Regions from separate parts of the Homo sapiens genome. Here region 2 is linked to region 1. The links are contacts of gene promoters, found by promoter capture Hi-C in human tissues and cell types (Jung and others, 2019). All regions are on one chromosome and are shown on one strand. The core of a region is centred on a gene start or on the middle of the fragment in contact, and the rest is flanking DNA. Distances in the headings are between cores, read along the strand shown. Region 1 holds the start of FKBP8 (FKBP prolyl isomerase 8). Region 2 holds the start of RFXANK (regulatory factor X associated ankyrin containing protein).

Region 1 (3,173 bases), core at 674-3,173:
TGGACATGATGGTGCACCTGTGGGCCCAGCTACTCAGGAGGCTGAGGCAGGAGGATTGCGTGAGCCCAGGAGATAGACATGGTTGCAGTGATCTGAGATCGTGCCACTGCACTCCAGCCTGGGTTTCAAAGTAAGACCCTATCTCAAAAAAAAAAAGGCAGAGATATAAGTAAACTAGTTTGGGAAGCCGAGGCAGGCAGATCATGAGGTCAGGAGTTCCAGACCATCCTGGCCAACATGGTGAAACCCTGTCTCTACTAAAAATATACAAATTAGCTGGGCATGGTGGCGGGTGCCTGTAGTCCCAGCTACTCAGGAGGCTGAAGCAGGAGAATCGTTGGAACTTAGGAGGTGGATGTTGCAGTGAGCCGAGATCGCGCCACTGCACTCCAGCCTGGCGACAGAGAGAGACTCTGTCTCAAAAAAAAAAGAGAAAGAAAAAAAAAAAAAAGGCCAGGCACGATGGCTCATGCCTGTAATCTTTGGTACATCGAGGTGGGCGGATCACGTGAGGTCGGGAGTTTGAGACCAGCCTGACCAACATGAAGAAATCCCGTGTCTACTAAAAATACAAAGTTAGCCAGGCATGGTGGTGCATGCCTCTACTCCCAGCTACTTGGAAGGCTGAGGCAGGAGAATCGCTTGAACCTGGGAGGCAGCGGTTGCGGTGAGCTGAGATTGCGCCATTGCACTCCAGCTTGGGCAACAAGAGTGAAACTTCTTCTCAAAAAACAAAAACAAACAAACAAACAAAAAACCCAAGTAAACTAGTTATGAAGTGGACGTTCATCAACTTCATTGTGCCAAGACAGCTAAAGGGGGCACCTGGTCTTGCCTTGGGGAGGTTGGGAGGGCTTCCTGTAGGAGGTAACCTGGGAACTCCAACCTTAGAAGTGATCTCCAAAAAGCCAGTTACCACCTCCATGATAGCTACCTCCAAAAGCTGGTGTCTGACTCATCCATCCATCCATCCATCCATCCATCCATCCATCCATCCACCTACCCATTTATTGAGCTTCTATAGATGCCAGGCATGGTTCAAGGAGGTGCTGGGTACAAATCAGGTAAAAATCTCTGCCAGGATGAAGCAGAGTGAGGGATGGTCCCTCCAACCACAAGCAAAATAATGACAAGATAATTCTGGAAGGAGTAACTGCTAGGAAGGAAATAAAACTGAGTGAAGGAGGGAGAAGTGTCCCGGTTTCAAAACAAGATCCACAAAAACTTAGCTAATCAAGGATGCCACCTTCTTCCCGAGCCATGGGGACCTTATCACCCTCCAGCAGACAGTGCATAGAGGAGGAACTCCTCCCAGTGGCCCTGCTGGCTCAGTCGCCTGCGCAGCAGTAATCGAGCGCCTCCAGTATGCACCAGGCAACCTTCTAGACATTAAACTGTGTGGGGGATGGGAGGGAGGTTTCTGTATGCCTTTGGGCACGTCACTCCTCCTCAGGCCCTCAGGTTCACTTCTGTAACTAAGGCTTCAGGATGGGTCATTCAGCAACCCCAGAGCTGCCCTGCCCGTCAAGCTTGAACTCTTTAAGGAAATAACATTTAGAGTGGACTGTGCCCCCAGCAGCCCCCAAGGTGAGAGTGCATAGATGGGGGTGTTTATCCCCATTTCGCAGATGGTCAGGATGAAGCTCAGAGGAGAGGCAGGAGTCGCACAGGCTGCGCGATACTGACCCGTGTTGGGGTCCAGCCCAGGGTCCCCCGCCCCCGCCCCAGCCCCCGCCCCAGCCCCCGCCCCAGCCCCCGCCCCAGCCCCAGCAGCCGGGAGGCTTCGGTCCCTTTAAGAACGCCCCGCGGGGCCAAGCAGGAAGGGGGAGGTGCCAACGCCCGGGACGGACGTCTGCATGAGCCAACGGGTGCGGCAGTCGCGGCAGCGGCGGCCAATGGGCACGGCAGGGGCGGGGCCAAGCGGCCGAACCTGGTTCCCGAGGCGCGGCGGCCGCGGCTGGGGGCGGGGAGGGGGGCGCAGGACCCCAAGTGGGGGTCCCGGAGCCAGAGGCAAGTGTCCTGGGGTGCTGGGGGCGCCGTGCCGGCCGGGCCGCTGCCCTGGCCTAGGCTGGTCCGGGGGCTAGCGCGCCGGGGGCTGCGGCCGATGGGCGGGGCGAGGGGCCGCGGGGGTGGCGAGCCGGGGGGGCACGGGGGTCGGGGGTGCCCGAGGGGGCGCGGCCGGGCGGGGGTGGCCAGGGATGGGGGTCACTGGGGGCAAAGGGGATCCAGTGGGGGGGTCCCGATGGAGGCGTGCAGGGCCAGGGGCGCCCGAGGCGTGCGGGGGTCGGGTGCCCCAGACTGGTGGCGTCAGACAGGCGTGGGTCGTTGGGGGCCTGGGTCGCGGCTTGACTGAGGGCCCGGCCGGGGCTGTGGGGCGTCAGGAGAGCGTGGGGTGTTATGGGATCGGAAAGGGGGGGGCGTCTGGGGACACTGGAGTGTTTACGGCGAGACGGAGCGGCTGTGGGGGGAGCTGGCCCGTGCTGGGGGCGGTGGTGGTTGGGGTGGGGGGTGGGAGGGGAGGCCGAATTGTGCGGGCGCGGGGAATTATGGGGGTGGGGGCTGGGAGGGTCTCTCAAAGTGGGGCTCCGAGCCCGGGAGGAGCAGGCAGGTGAGGGTTAGGGAGGGGATGCGGCGGGCTGGTTTGATGGCTGTGCCACACTCTTCTGAGCTTGGGGCCTGGGGGACGGAGGGGTTGGTTATTGGTTCAGGAGGTCTGGGGCAAGGAAGAGGCTGTAGAATGTGGTGGGACCTCGACCACTCCTGGAAAGGAGGCTGCTTTGAGGGGGTGGGACCGAGGCCTGATGAGAGGAGGATGGTCTCCTGGGGAAGGATTTGGGCCAGGGTCCCTGATGTTGGGGTTGTGGGGGATAGTGTTAGATTCAGAGTGTGGAAGGAAAAAACGCTTGGGGTTTCTGGGTGATTACAGTTGGTGCTTTTGGGGAGGGTCTCCCCTTTGGAGAAGAGGCTGGAGGTGGGAGGCCCTGGTAAAAGATTCAATTTCCCCCAGTGGCCTTAGAGGCTCTAAAAATGGCTTCCCTAAGGCCTCGGAGGCTGTCCTCTCCACAAAAATCCCAGCACCCTTCGCTCAGCTTATAATCAGGCAAAGCCACAGGGCCTGAAGCCCCAGGTTCAAATCCTCCTTTGGCCTTTGGCTTTCTCTGTGACCTTGGGCA
Region 2 (3,173 bases), core at 274-2,773, 650 kb before region 1:
TTTCGAGGTCTACCATTCCCCACCACCAAAGCACCTACAATGTGCAATGTTTAAGAGCCTGGGCTCTGGCAGGGCACAGTGGCTCACGGCTGTAATCCCAGCACTTTGGGAGGCCGAGGAGGGTGGATCATGAGGTCAGGAGTTCGAGACCAGGCTGGCCACCATGGTGAAACCCCATCTGTACTAAAAATACAAAAATTAGCCAAGCGCGGTGGCGGGCGCCTGTGATCCCAGCTACTCGGGAGGCTGAGGCAGAATTGCTTGAACTCGGGAGGTGGAGGTTGCGGTGAGCAGAGATCGCACCACTGCACTGTAGCTGGGGCGACAGAGCAAGACTCTGTCTCAAAAAAAAAAAAAAAAAAAAAAAAGAAAGGAAAAAAAAGCCGGGGCTCTGGGGTCAGCTGTCTGGGTTCGAATCCCTCAATTTATAGGCCGTGAGAACTTGGGCACGTGACTTAACCTTTGAGCCTCAGTTTCCTCCACGACAAAATGTGGAAATGAGACCTACAACGAATTATGTCTGTACATAGCTTATCGGGGGATCTGCTAAGCGTGGAGCTCAATAAATATTCGCTATGGTTGTTGGGAGGGGCTCCCCATAATGAGTGACGGCTCAACAAAGGTGCGATTGGTCCCAGTCCCACCCGAGCCTCCTAAATCGATCCAGGAGGTCCACTCACCTCCCCACGAGCCTCCTCTGTCCCCCCGCGCCGAAAGCCCAGTTCTCTCAAAACTTGGGGGCCCAAGTCACAAACTTTTCTCTTCCAATGGATATAGCAGGAGGCAAACTGGAGACCGGACCCTCAGCGATCTGGCTTCCTCTGCCGGGACAGAAAGCAACTTGATACTCGACCGCTACCCCCACCCCAGAGCTCCCCCACTGCGCTTGCGCACCCCCGCCCCCCAAAAGTGAGGAAGGGCCCGGGCAGTAAGTGCTGCCTCTGGCCCTTTAAGACTTAGGGGAGGGCGTGGGTTCCGCTGGGGTCCTGGGAGGGCAGTTGCGCCTGCGCCTTCTTTTCCCCTCCTCACCGACTCGGAGGGAATGGGCGGGGCCTAAAGGGCTCTGAGAATTTCACTACGCCTGCGCCCGCTCACCTTTACCCTGCCCACAGATTTTTCCAGAGGGAGCCAATTGGCTCCGGCTTCGGGTAGATGGGCGGGGCTATCTCAAGAAGAAGAAGTAGGGGAAGTACGCGGGGCGTCTGGAACTTAAAGGGGCAGCGTACCTTGGCCGTCCCGTTCCACAACAAGGTCCCTTCTGCGGTCTCAAAGGCTTATAAGCAAGGGCGGGGGCAGAGGGCTAAAGAAGGGAGTTTTTGCGGCCCGAGTGGGTAATGCGTGGAGGACTCCCCCAACTCGTCTCTCAAGGAAAAGGGGGTTCAGAAAGGGAGAGAGTTCTTCCCCCTCTCCTGCCTGGGTGTCGCTCCACCAGCCTCCTGGCCGTCGCGCCCCCTCCTCACTGCGCCACCCCCGGGTGTGCCTCCTTCCCTGCGTCTCACACAGCCCCTTTCTTGTCCGCAAAGACTGAGGAGCGGGGAGGGCGGGCCCTCTGACACCGGAACAGGAGCCGTGCGGCGTCCGGTTTCAGCAGGGAAGGCTTAGGCGGGCGTCCCAACCTCCGGGCTTCCGGTGCCGTTTCCCGGTTCGCTCGGCCGCGGTCGCTATGGAGGAGCCGGAGATGCAGCTCAAGGGGAAGAAAGGTGGTGCGGGCCTGCGGGCGGGACAGAGGGGGCCGGTAACTTGTGGAGGGGCGGCCTGACAAAGGCCGGGCGCGGAGGGACCGTGCGAGGAGCAGTGATTGAACTGCCGTCCAATCCCAGCTCTGCCGCTGACTAGTTTTGAAACCTGTAGAAAGGCTCCGTGTCTGCTTTAATTACCGGTCCCCCCAGGATTGTTTCAAGAATTCAGTAGCTGAGGCTGGGAGTGGTGGCTTTGTAATCCCAGCACTTTGGGAGGCCTAGGCGGGAGGATCGCTTGAGCCCGAGACCAGCCTAGGTGACATAGTGAGATCTCGTCTCTAAAAAAATACAAAAATTAGCCGGGCGTGGTGGCGCACGCCTGTGGTCCCAGCTACTTGGGCGGCTAAGGTGGGAGGATTGCTTGAGCCCGGGAGGTCAAGGCTGCACTGCAGTGGGCTACGGTCGTGCCACTGCACCCCCAGCCTGGGTGACAAGTGAGACCCTGTCTAAAAAAAAAAAACTCAACAACCTGATATTTGTAATGCATTGGAAGAATCCCCGGGGCGTAGTAATCGCTGTGCGTCTTGTTTCCTTTTTTTTTTTTTTTTTTGAGACAAGGTATCACACTGTCGCCCAGGCTGGGGTGCGGTGGCGCGATCATGGCTCACTGTAGCCTCGATCTCTCTGGCGCGGGCGATCCTCTTGCCTCAGCTTCTCCAGTAGCTGGGACTACAAGTGCACACCACCACATCAGGCTAATTCTTTAATTTTTTTTTTTTTTGACGGAGTCTCGCTCTGTCACCCAGGCTGGAGTGCCGTGGGGGGATCTCAGCTCACTGCAACCTCAGCCCCCTGAGTAGCTAGGATTACAGGCACACACCCCCATGCCCAGCTAATTTTTTTGTATTTTTAGTAGAGACGGGGTTTCACCTTGTTGCTCAGGCTAGTCTCGAACTCCTGACCTCGAGTGATCCACCCACCTTGGCCTCCCAAAGTGCTGGGATTACAGGTGTGAACCACTGCACCCAGCTAATCCCCTATACTTTAAATCACCCTAGATTACTCACATCTAGAATACATAATACAGGCCTACACATCACTTCATTCACATGGATTCAAAGAAGTGCTTCGTGTAGGGCAGATTGAAGTTTTGCTTTTTGAAACTTTGTGGAATTTTTTTTTTCCTATTTTCCATCCACGGTTGGTTGAATCCACAGATTCGGGAACCATGGATAACGGAGGGCATGAGTATGAGGCATGAGCCACCGTGCCTTGTCTGTTATGCTCACCTTTCTTCTTCTTTTTTTTTATTTGAGACGGAGTTTTGCTCTTGTTGCCAAGGCTGGAGTGCAATGGCGTGATCATGGCTCACGGCAACCTCCGCCTCCCGGGTTCAAGTGTTTCTCCTGCCTCAGCCTCCCGAATAGCTGGGATTACAGGCATGCACCACCATGCCTGGCTAATTTTGTATTTTCAGTAGAAACGGGGTTTCTC

What was found. The method cuts DNA at HindIII sites, captures the fragments that hold promoters and counts their contacts. A contact is called where the count stands out against the background at its distance.
Region 2: a contact is called between the fragment with the promoter of RFXANK here and the fragment with the promoter of FKBP8 in region 1, in 1 of the 25 tissues and cell types used here (lymphoblastoid cells).

What each region holds. Positions count from the first base shown.
Region 1 is chr19:18,542,323-18,545,495 of GRCh38, reverse strand. FKBP8 (FKBP prolyl isomerase 8) reads left to right here and starts at 1,923. Exons shown (of 9, transcript NM_012181.5): 1 at 1,923-2,010. RefSeq lists a silencer at 1,678-2,107. The HindIII fragment of the contact is 12,332 bases long and covers 1-3,173 here.
Region 2 is chr19:19,190,608-19,193,780 of GRCh38, reverse strand. RFXANK (regulatory factor X associated ankyrin containing protein) reads right to left here and starts at 1,523. Exons shown (of 10, transcript NM_003721.4): 1 at 1,227-1,523; 2 at 681-821. It overlaps BORCS8-MEF2B (BORCS8-MEF2B readthrough), which reads left to right and starts at 1,629. Exons shown (of 12, transcript NR_027308.2): 1 at 1,629-1,700. BORCS8 (BLOC-1 related complex subunit 8) reads left to right here and starts at 1,629. Exons shown (of 6, transcript NM_001145784.2): 1 at 1,629-1,700. The coding sequence starts at 1,664. RefSeq lists an enhancer at 657-746. The HindIII fragment of the contact is 21,341 bases long and covers 1-3,173 here.